Linked DNA regions of Homo sapiens: regions 2 and 3 are each linked to region 1. Evidence: promoter capture Hi-C in 16 types of primary human blood cells and fetal thymus (Javierre and others, 2016). All regions are on one chromosome and are shown on one strand. Each heading gives the region's core, a stretch centred on a gene start or on the middle of the fragment in contact. The rest is flanking DNA. Distances are from core to core; before and after follow the strand shown. Region 1 holds the start of GATM (glycine amidinotransferase). Region 2 has its middle 4.6 kb from the start of SLC28A2-AS1. Region 3 has its middle 26 kb from the start of SLC28A2-AS1.

Region 1 (3,907 bases), core at 1,345-3,844:
GATGAGCTCCCAACCTTTAGGGAGAGGCAAAGCAGAGGAATGAGGCAAGATTCATTTTTGACAAAAGCCTTGTTACATCACGTGACATAAGGAGAAATCAAAGATGATTCTTTTGTGTTTTAGCTTGATTAAATAGGAATGCCAATAATTAAAAGGCAGGAATGAGGAGGGATCCACTTGAGCAGGTGGCTGGCAACTGAACTCCAGATGTGCCAAGTTTGAAGTCCTGTGGCAATATCCCGTAAGGAGTTTAACTCGTTGATCTGGAAGGAGTTCAATACAGAGATCCGGACCAGAGAGGAGGTGGGAGCGGTAGCTGTGAGAATGGCTAAGAGAAGGGGGCTGAAAGTAATATTCTGTTCAACCTTGCCATTACAGGCTGTGACGGAAGAAGATCTGAGGACAGTGAAAGAACTATTATTCCCAGAAAAGCTCTCTCAGAATCCAAGGGAAGAGCTTCAGGAAGCTCTTCAGGAAGGAAGCAATTATCATTGGTGTAAATAGTGTCAAATACCACAGAGGTGTCAAGTAAGATAACTTAATCACTGGATTGAGAGGTCTGGGAGTAAGCTGAAGGGAAAGCAGTCAGAGGGTAGCAGCAGCAGGTGAGGAGGGAGCGCACTTTCAGACATGTGAATAGCCTTCCTTTACCTTCACCTCGATGGTGAACGGTGGAACACAGGCGTTTTCTGCTCTGCCCACTATCACTTCCTCTAAGGGGTCCCATTCGTTGTAAGAAGAGACAGGGCAGTCCTTGGGCAGAGGCTCAGTGGCTTTGTCGTCAGCTGCACAGGAGTTCCGGGAGGAAGCCGTAGCTGCCTGGGTGCTCTGGAAAGTTCGCTGCACCCATCCTGTCAAGGTTCGTCCAAGCTTCCAAGAACAAAGAAAAGATTATTGTATTGCATTGCTCTATCAGTACTTACAGAGAGGAGGAAGTGGAGATGGAGTAAAAATCCAGCATAACATTGCCACTTAAACCCCTTTAGAACAGCATAAACCAAGACGTTAACAGTGTGTAGGTGGGTAGTGGGATTACAGATAATTTTTTTAACCCTCTTGTTTATCTACAAATTGTCTTCTTATCTATTAATTGCTGTAACTCTTTAAAACTCCTCAGAAGACCGTGTCCCCAGCTACCATACACCCCCATCTTTATCTCAGAATGCAATTCCTGCACTCAAGCTTTAAGCAACTGTTTTGCAGATGGGTCAGTCCTCCTCTCAGAAAACCATAGACAGCTGCTCTAAAACTTCCCGCCAGTCTCAGCTGGGGACGGAACCTCCTTTTCCCTTAAGTATCAAAGGTTACCAATATTAGGCTTTTTATTTATTTTTTTTTACAAATGAAAAGTTGGGAACATTTGTAAAGGACCTTATCTTTCAGAATAACCAGCTTCAAATCAAATTTTTTTCATCTTTGACATACACTTCGCATTCTTTGGCACTTCAATTCTGAGAGTGAGCAACTGCCATCTGCTCCATTTTACAGATGGTCCACAGTACCCTAGCCAAGGTCAGGATTAGCTCAGGCGTAAATTCAAACAAATAAGAAGGAGATCTAAAAACTTCAAAAGCCTTTTAAAAATGCATGGCCTATAAAATCTAGAGCAGGGAGGGTCCCTCAACCCCTGAGCAAACCTCAACCCCCCAAATCTCTATCCTGCTCTGTTAAAAGCCTTAGGAAGTGGGCAGGAGGAGAACTCGGGTGGAGGCAGAAGAAAGACGGAGAATGACAGCTGTTCAGGAACCAGTTGCTGGGAGGAAGCCAGAATGTCGGAGCGATTCCAGTACTAGAAGCATGGGAGGGTCTGCTGCCAGGGCAGCCGAGGGCGGGGAGCGCAGAAACTCTGCTTACAGGCTGCACTCGCCCCGACTCCTCTCCAGACGTGGGATCCCATGTTATACTTGGAGTGAATCTGGTCGCTCGCTCCCCGTCCCCGATTCCCACTTTGCTTGCCTCTTCTCCCCATCCATCTACCCCACACGCATTTTCCAGAAATCTCCCCAACTCGACGCCCACTCAGGCTACTGAACCCCAATAACGCCACCCTTTTACTAAGAGGAGCCTCCGTCGTCCCAACCCCTTGCTCCGAGCGGGAAGCTTGGTGCAGCGCACCAAGGTCCGGTAGAGGGGGGCGGCGCCCCCTGCGCCGTGGGCCAGCAGGCCGCGGACGCGCAGACAGCAAGTGGACCCCAAGGGCTGGAGCCGCAACGCAAGTTCCCCCTGACTGGGGGACGCCGCCCAGCTCCTGGAGCCTGCGAAGGCTCTTGAAGCTGAGCTTCCCAGGGATACCAGAAGGGACACTCTCGTGCAATTCCGGCTAGGGAAAGCGAGGGAAGGTGGCGGCTCCGGGCAGGGAGCGAGCGAGTGCTCCACGCCGCCCGCAGGATCGAGTGAGTCACGCGGCCGCCAGACGAGGCCGGTGGCGCACGCACCCGAGATCCGATGTAGTGCACCGCCTCGGCGCCGCGGCTCCCGCCGCGCAGACACCGCACCCGCAGCATCGCCCTGGCCCGGCTGGTCCACGCGCGGAATGTTCCTGGCCTCTGGGCCGCGTCGGTCCAAGCCTTCCCGAGAGCGCGCCCGGAGCGGGGTGGGCGGGCGCGCGGGGCCCGAGGCCTTTTGTAGCCGCGCTCCGCCCCGGCCGCCCCCCGCGGCCCCATTGGCTGCCGGGAACAGGTGGTGGGGCCGGCGTAGCGCCCCGAATTAGGAACTGTCGGGAAGCGCCGCGGCCGCTGGCTCGAGCCTCCGATGCTTGCCCTTTTTTAGCCAGCGGGGCCACTGACGGCTTCTGTTGCACGTCCGGACCCGGACCCAGACCCGAGCGTCGCAAGAAGGCCCGTTGGAGTCTCGCGCAACTGGGCAGGACGCGACTTCTGACGAAGTGACAATGGTCTATGCATATATTAAGTGAATATTTGAGAATTTAAATATGCAAAGCGTGAGTACAGTGTTACCCTTAAATTCACATATGCGCACTGAACCAGTCACCTCATTTTTCGGTAAACGAAACCACCTAAAGATTAGGTGGTTTCTTGGTGCAACATCGGGTTTGAGACTGCAGAAAACTAAGTCTGGAAATTGGGCCATTTGTTCCCCGGGGAGGCAGTGCTTTCCTTCCAGTACCCCGTCGGTTGTTATTTGGAACACCTGGCATTTCACATGGTCTTTGGCCATATGCCCCTGGCTTGAGAAACTCCGTCATGAAAATCGACAAGTGTGGGTCAGAAATAAGGGAGGACGACAGTTTCGTTCCTTCCATTTCATGTTTTAAAATTTTTGTTTCAACTTGATCAGGATTCTTTTTTAGAAAAGTATTTTCCCTCACAGTGCAGTCTTAATTGCTGTGGATTTGTACAGAGCTAGAGAACTCAGGTTAACATTTATGCTCCTAGCAGGAGGGGGGGCAAGAGATTTGAGTATTTCATTTTTGTACTTATAGAATTATAACTATTCATTTTTGATGAGCTGTCTTTTCAATTTTGGTATCTCAAGCTTGTTTTCCAGAGTTCATGGATGGAAAGCACCAGACGAGCAGATGGCATGGTGGAAAGAGCCTCCGAGAGGGAATTAGGATAACTGAGTTCCAGTCCTGAATCACTTATAGACTACTATATGTCTTCCTGAATTGCAGTCTTCTTATCTGCAAAGTGAGAACAATAGAATTTACTGTCCCTAGCACATGGGGGGTTGCTGAGAGGCCAAAATGAGAGATTGTACATGCAGAACTTGATGCGTGGCATTAGAGCTGTATGAGGCCGGGTGCAGTGGCTCACGCCTGTAATCCCAGCAATTGGGAAGGCCGAGGCAGGCGGATTGCCTGAGGTCAGGAGTTTGAGACTATCCTGGTCAACATGATGAAACCCTGTCTACTAAAAATACAAAAACTAGGTCGGGCGCGGTGGCT
Region 2 (3,907 bases), core at 1,002-3,501, 94 kb before region 1:
GCACAGTGGCACTTAACAAAGGCTTAGAAGGGGTGGGGAACATGCTCCTACCAGCCATATCGTGTAAGAATCACACACAAAAAATTCACTCAATTACTATTCATAATAATAGCTAACATTTACTGAGTGCCTACTAACTGCCAGGCGTTGGATATTACTTGACCAAATTCTCACAAAAACTCTATGAGGTATCTCACAGTCATAAAGCCACAGCCACAGCCCCTGGTGCTAACATGCCCCCATACACCCCCATACACTGAGTACTGACTCAGGAGGAAAGACTGAAGCACATTGGCCAAAATGGGCTGCAGAGGCTCTTTCTTCCTGAGAAGCTGGCTGGAGGAGTGGGTACTACCACCCAGAAGTGTGAGAGAGTTCATGTCTAGGGTAGGGTAAACCTTGACCACTGAGAGACAGGAGACAAAAAGAAGCCAGCATTGTTCACCCTTCCTCCCGTGAGAGGCAGTGGCTTCATATGTACTCCGTGGAGATGCCCTGGAAGGCCAGGCAAACATCTCTGTTCGCAGTGAAGCTATGGCCATCTTGGTAGCACATCTCTTTGTTTTTACATCTCCCCTACCTCACTTCTTTTTTCTCGTCATACTTTCTTCCCTGCAATTTCACCAATCAATAAAGCATCCATCACAAAAATGTGCATATTTTTGCTCTAAGCTTTTCTTGAGACTGTAGGCTCAAAAATGCTAGTACCAGGAGTAGTCTTTAAAAGCAGACCTTTAAAAGTGTGATTTTAGAGACTAGCCCACCTATCTAAAGGCAATCAGAACTGTTTCCCCAGTGGTAAACAGGATAGTATAACCCTGCCATGCAGGGGCATGCATGACAATTACTAAGGCTTTCACCTCCAGTTGACTGGGATGAGGTGCAGATAGAAGATAAGGAATTAGGATATTATGTGGCTGCTGTATTTGATCAGTATGGGAGCAATAATAACGGCACAGAGTGGAGAATAGACTGGCTGCTCTTGAGAGCATTGGAAGTCTTGGAAAAAGAAAATGATAGTTTAAAGCAGCATATTGCCAACTAAGTAACAATATGAAAGCCAGAGGAGTTCTGTGGCAGCCATAAAGGAGACTCATCTCTTGCAGCAGTAGGTTAGACACTGTTGAAAACAATGAGAACACTTGGACACAGGGTGGGGAACATCACACACCGGGGCCTGTAGTGGGGTTGGGGGAGGGGGGAGGGATAGCATTAGGAGATATACCTAATGTAAATGATGAGTTAATGGGTTCAGCACACCAACATGGCACATGTAAGCATATGTAACAAACCTGCACATTGTGCACATGTACCCTAGAACTTAAAGTATAATTTTAAAAAATTTAAAAAAATTAGGTTCAGGGCTGGGTGCAGTGGCTCACACCTGTAATCCCAGCACTTTGGGAGGTCGAGGTGGGTGGATCACCTGAGGTCAGGAGTTTAAGAGCAACCTGGCCAACATGGCAAAACCCTGTCTCTACTAAAAATACAAAACTAGCTGAACATGATGGTGCACACCTGTAATCCCAGCTGTTGGGGAGGCTGAGGCAGGAGAATCACCTGAACCGGGAGACAGAGATTGCAGTGAGCCAAGATTGTGCCATTGCACCCCAGCCTGGGCTACAGGAGGGAAACTCTGACTCAAAAAAAAAAACAATAAATAAAAAGAAAAGAAAAGAAATTAGGTTCAGGATCCAGAATGGCAAAGCTGCTAAAGGTATTGAATGCATAGCTTCAACAGCTTTCCCATGTGGAGGTATTTTCCAGAAAAGAAAAATGTGAGGCGTTAAGACCTGAATAAGAAATATGTGAGTGGCAGAGTGACCAGTGAACCCAAGGCATCAGCATCACCTGCTAGACATGCAGAGTCTCAGGCCTCGCCCCAGACCCACTGAATCAGAATATGCATGTTAACAAGATTCCCTGGCCGGGCACCGTGGCTCACGCCTGTAATCTCAGCACTTTGGGAGGCAGAGGCAGGAGGATTGCTTGAGCCTACAAGTTCAGGGCCAGCCTGGGCAACATAGTGGACCCCGTCTGTACAAAAAAATTAAAAAAAAAAATAGCCAGGTGTGGTCCCAGCTGCTTGGGAGGCTGAGGCAGGAGGATCGCTTGAAGCCGGGAGGTTGGGGCTGCAGTGAGCCATGATCATGCCACTGCATTCCAGCCTGGGTGACAGAGCAAGACGCTATCTCAAAAATAAATAAATAAATAAATAAAATATGTGAGTGGATGAGCCTCAAAATCTGGAGCTCCTAATTGTCCCTAAATCTTCCTGGCCAGCAGAAGCAGTCCCTTTTCTTTCTTATTTATTTATTTATAATGCTGTCAGCAAAACCCTTTTCTCTTGACTAAGGAAAACAGCCTCCCCTTGCCCATCCAAAATAGGTCATTGCAGAATAACTTTCGTTCTTCCCAAGATAAGCCTCCATTCTCTGCCTTTTTTGCCTCCAGTCTGGTAATCTGTGCCAGAGCTCAGCACAGCCTGAGCAGGGAAGTACAGGTCCTGCTCCAGAAGGAGTTAGCCTCCATTCCAAAGGAACTGTAGGACCTGGAGAATATGTAAGAACTGAGGACTAAACTCTAATTTTTTTATCTGCCCAAATTCCTACCTAAGGGGTCTAGGGAGTCATGTCCTACAAACCATAAATTCTCATCAGATGGGTTTTGTTTGACCCTATATATCGTGACTTACTTTTCAATCACTCTGGCATAACATTGAGACAAGGAAGAAATATTTAACCCCAAAATATATTTCCTTGCTATACCTTGAAATTGCCCTACAAAGTCTCTTGTGGGAAAAATACATATCCTGTAGAGAATCCCCTTCCCCCTTTGTTTTCTTTCCTTTCTTTCCAGATCCAGGAGATAATCAACTAAGAGCCAGACACCCTTTTAGGTCTGATAAGAAACATTTTATAACCTGCTCTCTCTCTGAAGTCTGCTATCTGCACAATAAAACTTGGTCTCTCCATAATCCTCTTTCTTAACCTGAACATTCCTTTCCATTAATCCCAGGTCTTCAGATAAACTCAACCAATTGTCAACCAGAAAATGTTTAAATCTACCTATACCCTGAAGCCCCCGGTTTGAGTTGTCCCACCATTCTGAACCAAACCAATGTATTTTATTTTATTTTCTTTCTTTCTTTTTTTTTTTTTTTTGAGATGGAGTTTTGCTCTGTCACCCAGGCTGGAGTGCAGTGGCGTGATCACAGCTCACTGCAGCCTCAGCCTCCTGGGTTCAAGCGATTCTCCTGCCTCAGCCTCCCAAGTAGCTGGGATTACAGGTGCACGCCACCAAGCCTGGCTAATTTTTGTATATTTAGTAGAGCTGGGGTTTTGCCATGTTGGTCAGGCTGGTCTCAAACTCCTGACCTCAGGTGTTCTGCCCGCCTCAGCCTCCCATAGTGTTGGGATTACAGGCATGAGCCACCATGCCCAGCCCAATATATTTCTTAAATGTATTTGATTGATGTATCATGCCCCCCTAAAAATATATAAAACCAAGCTGTACCCCAACCACCTTGGGTACGTGTTCTTAGGACCTCCTGAGGGCTGTGTCACAGGCCATGATCACTCATATTTGGCTCAGAATAAACCTCTTAAAATATTTTACAGAGTTTGACTCTTTGTCAACAGAATCAGGGTAATGTAGGTGGGAGTAGATCTTGAAAATGTAAGACTGGGGAGAGAGAGAGAGTGAGTGCATAAAATAAGGTTTTATAAGAGAGAATTCATTACCTGAGGGCATACATTCATGAGTGGTTATCCAGTGTTTTGGCAAGAGCACTTGAGGTCACTATAAATAGTTTGTTGTGCTGTTTCCTTGAAGCTTGGACACACCAGAAATAATCTTGGCATTGTACTGGAGAAGGGATCAAAAGTCATAGGAAAATGAGAACGTT
Region 3 (3,907 bases), core at 687-3,186, 74 kb before region 1:
TATATTTTTGATACCAGGCACTTAGCAAATATATGAGTTGCAAATGTCCCATTCTTTAGGTTGTCTTTTCACTTTCTTGGTAATGTCCTGACATAAAAGTTTTAAATTTGGACACAGTCCATTTTACCTATTTTTTTCTCTTATTGCTTGTGCTTTTGGTGCCATATCTAAGAATTCATTGCCAAATCCAAACTGATAAAAATTTACCTTGATCCTTTTTTCTAAGAGTTTAGTAGTTTTTGTTTCTACATTTAGGTTTTTTTTTTTTTTTTTTGAGGCAGAGTCTCGCTCTGGCTCTGTTGCCCAGGATAGAGCATGATGGCGTGATCTCAGCTCACTGCAGCCTCTCTGCTTCCTGGGTTCAAGCTATTCTCCTGCCTCAGCCTCCCAAGTAGCTGGGATTACAGGCATTCACCAGCATGCCGGCTAATTTTTGTATTTTTAGTAGAGACAGGGTTTCACCATGTTGGCCAGGCTGGTCTTGAACTCCTGACCTCAGGTGATCCACCTGCCTCAGCCTCCCAAAGTGCTGGGATTTACAGATGTGAGCCACCACATCCAGTCTTTTTTTTTTTTTTTTTTGATCCATTTTGAGTTACTTTTGATCCATTTTGAGTTACTTTTTGTATATGGTGTGAGGTAGGGGTCCAAAAAGTGTCATTCTTTTGGATGTGGATATCCAGTTTTCCCAGAACCATTTGTTGAAAAGATTACTTCTTCCCCATCAAATGGTCTTGTCACCCTTGTTGAAAATCAATTGTCCATAGATGTATGGGTTTACTTCTGGTCTCTCAATTCTATTCCATTGATGTTTATCTCTGTCCTTATGCCAATACCTCACACTGTTTTGATCACTGTAGCTATGTAGTAAGTTTTGAAATTGGAAACTATGAGTCTTCCAACTTTGTTATTTTTTTGATATTATTTTAGATAATCAGGGCCCCTTGCAATTCCCTATGAATTTGAGAGGATCTACTTTTCCATTTCTGCAAGAAAAAAAAAGGCATTGGAATTTTTATAGGAATTGCATTGAATATGTAGATCACTTTGGGTAGCATTGCTGTCTTAACAATATTAAATATTCCAATTTCCAATAGATGAATATGAGATATCTTTTCATTTATTGATGTCTTCTTAACTTTCTTCCAGCAATGTATTGTAGTTTTCAATGCACAAGGCTTTCACCTCCTTAGTTAAATTTATTCCTAGATATTTTATTCTTTTGGATGCTATTATAAATGAGACTGTTTTCTTAAGTTCCTTTTTGAATCATTCTTGCATGTCCACTATTAATTTGTACTGAAATCTTCTAAGCTTTTCATTAACTTGTCACTTTGTAATCGTTCTCAAGTCATAAATTACCCAACAATATCAAAAATATTTATTATTTAAGAATATCACCAACTTCTGAGCACAATTCTTTTTTCTCTTTCTTATTACATCTAGTACAGTGTCCTCTTTACTTATAATATAGGTATTCAGTAAACTTATTAATTTACCAATTTTTATTCATTATTTATTTTTATGTATTTTTAAATTTTAGAGTCAGGGTCTTGCTCTGTTGCCTAGGCGAGAGGGCAGCAGCACAGTCATAGCTCATAGCAGACTCAAACTCCTGGGCTCAAGCAAGCCTTCCCCCTCAACCTCCCAAGTAGCTAGGACTACAGGCGTGCACCACCATGTCCAGCGAATTTTTAAGTTTTTTGTAGAGATGGAGTCTCTGTATGTCACCCAGGCTGGTCTTGAACTCTGGGCCTCAAGTGATCCTCTGCCTCGGCCTCCCAAAGTTCTGGGATTACAGGTGTGAGCTACCACGCCCAGCCCTTGATTCATTACTTTAAAAAATGCAAAATCATGTCATGTAAATATCTATCCATGCTTTCTTTCTATTCCTATTAGCATTGCCTTAGTCAGGCACATGCAGTTTCTCCCTGTGGAATTTTCAGGTTTTTTTAAATATTGTCTCTTCTTCCTTCCTAAATCTTGATGGTAATTTGTTTTTGCAGTCTGGATCAAGATCAAAATTGCTGCAGGCTACCTCAACTTGTCTTTGGTTCATCCATGCTGCTCTTAAGGGAGAAAGAGAGAAAGGGTTCAGGTTCAGTTATTAAAATACCTCTTCCATGAAGTTTCCCCTAGACTGATTATTGAAAAGCTAAAGCTAATTACCTCTCTTTTTCCATCTCATTTGCGTGAAATCGTAATCTCTCCAGCTTTGTATCTAATTATGTACTCACTCTTGCCTTAATTAAAATGTATTTAAAATCACAGAATTAGAAGTTGGAGGGGATCTTAGGAATATAATGCAGACTCCTGGTTAAATGTGGTCGAATGAGCACATTCACTTGTCGCTGATGCCTAGCCAAAGCCTTCTAAAATGTCAATATATTCAAAATGCATAAACCAACAAGGACAAAAAAACTGGGTAAGAAGATGACAGTGACTACACTTCAAGAGTTGTAAAGCCGATGGAAAGGTGGAAACTGACCTAGCAGAGTGATAACCCATTAAACTATTAATGAAAAAAACTCAGAGCAAGCCAATTCCCAGAACTCCAGAAAAGCTTGGGTATTAGAGGTGGTAGGTATCTCTGAAAGGGGAAAAATGACTGAAAAAAAAGCCATAGTTGAGGGTAGGGATACTTTACAGAAAATGGGACTTAAACGAAAGCCAATATTAGACAGTGACAACCTAGCTCCCTTCTCCAACTCGGTTCTGAGAATTCTGCAACCAGCTTACCCTCTTCAACCCACAGGAAACTGGAAAATTCCTCTTTGGGAAAATGTTCCACCCCAAGAGCAGGGAAAACCTTCCAAGCTTAATAAGATCATTCTACACTGATCAGCCCAACCTCCTACTCTGCCTCACCTCTGGTATTGGTCTCACTGTTCTTTCTTTTAGTTTAATTTATCGTGGTAAGAACACTGAACATGAAATCTACCCTATTAACACATTGTTAGGTGTGCAATATGTTTTTGTTGTCTATAGGCACATTGTCATGCTGCAGATCTCTAGAGCTTATTCATCTTGTTTAACTGATACTTTATGCCTATGATTAGTCACTGTCCTATAAAGGATCACCTTCAGACAATAAAGGAATTTCTCCAGCATGAAGGACAGAATGAACAAAATGGAACTCAGAGGAAATCAAAGCAATGGAGTTGGCAGGAAAATGTGTTTAAAAAATACCTACTGTCTGTTCCTGTTGCTAGGAAAAGATATCATATCTCCCCTTTCCCCAAAGAAAGGAGGCTTTAAAAAGGAGAATTGAGAAGAAAAGAGACTCCTGTAAGTGGAAAATGCTATAGTAGAAAAAAAAAATTCAACAGAAGGGAAGGAAAATAAGACGAGGAAAATAAAGTGGTTTCTGAGGACTGAAACCACATAGTTTACTGTTTAAATTTACAAGACATTACTCTTTCAGTCTCTTCACAAATAAAACTTTATTATAAAAGGGACCTCTTTCATGAGGCAATAAAAGAAGCAAATAACTTTGTTTATTCTGGGATTTATTTCCCCCAGAAACTGTTAAAATAAACATCAAACTGTCCGATTTACCAATAGATATCATCAAGTGACAGTTTACTCCCCAAGAATTGTTTTTTTCTTTTTCTTTCTCTCGCTCTCTTTTTTTTTTTTTTTTTTTTTTTTTTGAGACAGGGTCACGCTCTATTGCCCAAGCTGGAGTGCAGTGGCATGATCATAGTTCACTGCAGCCTCCAGCTCCTTGACTCAAGTGATCCTCCCTCCTTAGTCTCCTGAGTAGCTGGGACTACAGGCATGCATCACCACACTCAGCTAATTTTTTTATTTTTTGGTAGAGACAGGGGTCTCACTATGTAACCCAGGCTGGTCTCAAACTCCTGGGCTCAAGTGATCCTCCCTCAGCAGCCTCTCAAAGTGCTGG

The links. The method cuts DNA at HindIII sites, captures the fragments that hold promoters and counts their contacts. A CHiCAGO score of 5 or more calls a contact.
Region 2: a fragment that was not itself captured here is called in contact with the fragment with the promoter of GATM in region 1 in 1 of 17 cell types (naive B cells); the score reaches 5.2 in naive B cells.
Region 3: a fragment that was not itself captured here is called in contact with the fragment with the promoter of GATM in region 1 in 3 of 17 cell types (M1 macrophages, M2 macrophages and M0 macrophages); the score reaches 6.6 in M1 macrophages.

Annotation. Positions count from the first base shown.
Region 1 is chr15:45,375,950-45,379,856 of GRCh38, forward strand. It overlaps GATM (glycine amidinotransferase), which reads right to left and starts at 2,595. Exons shown (of 9, transcript NM_001482.3): 1 at 2,436-2,595; 2 at 652-870. The coding sequence starts at 2,504. RefSeq lists a silencer at 2,394-2,723 and an enhancer at 2,864-2,943. The HindIII fragment of the contact is 1,395 bases long and covers 2,099-3,493 here.
Region 2 is chr15:45,281,842-45,285,748 of GRCh38, forward strand. No RefSeq gene overlaps it. Among named protein-coding and RNA genes, the nearest start is that of SLC28A2-AS1, 4.6 kb to the left of the region's middle. The HindIII fragment of the contact is 3,162 bases long and covers 671-3,832 here.
Region 3 is chr15:45,302,777-45,306,683 of GRCh38, forward strand. No RefSeq gene overlaps it. Among named protein-coding and RNA genes, the nearest start is that of SLC28A2-AS1, 26 kb to the left of the region's middle. The HindIII fragment of the contact is 1,249 bases long and covers 1,313-2,561 here.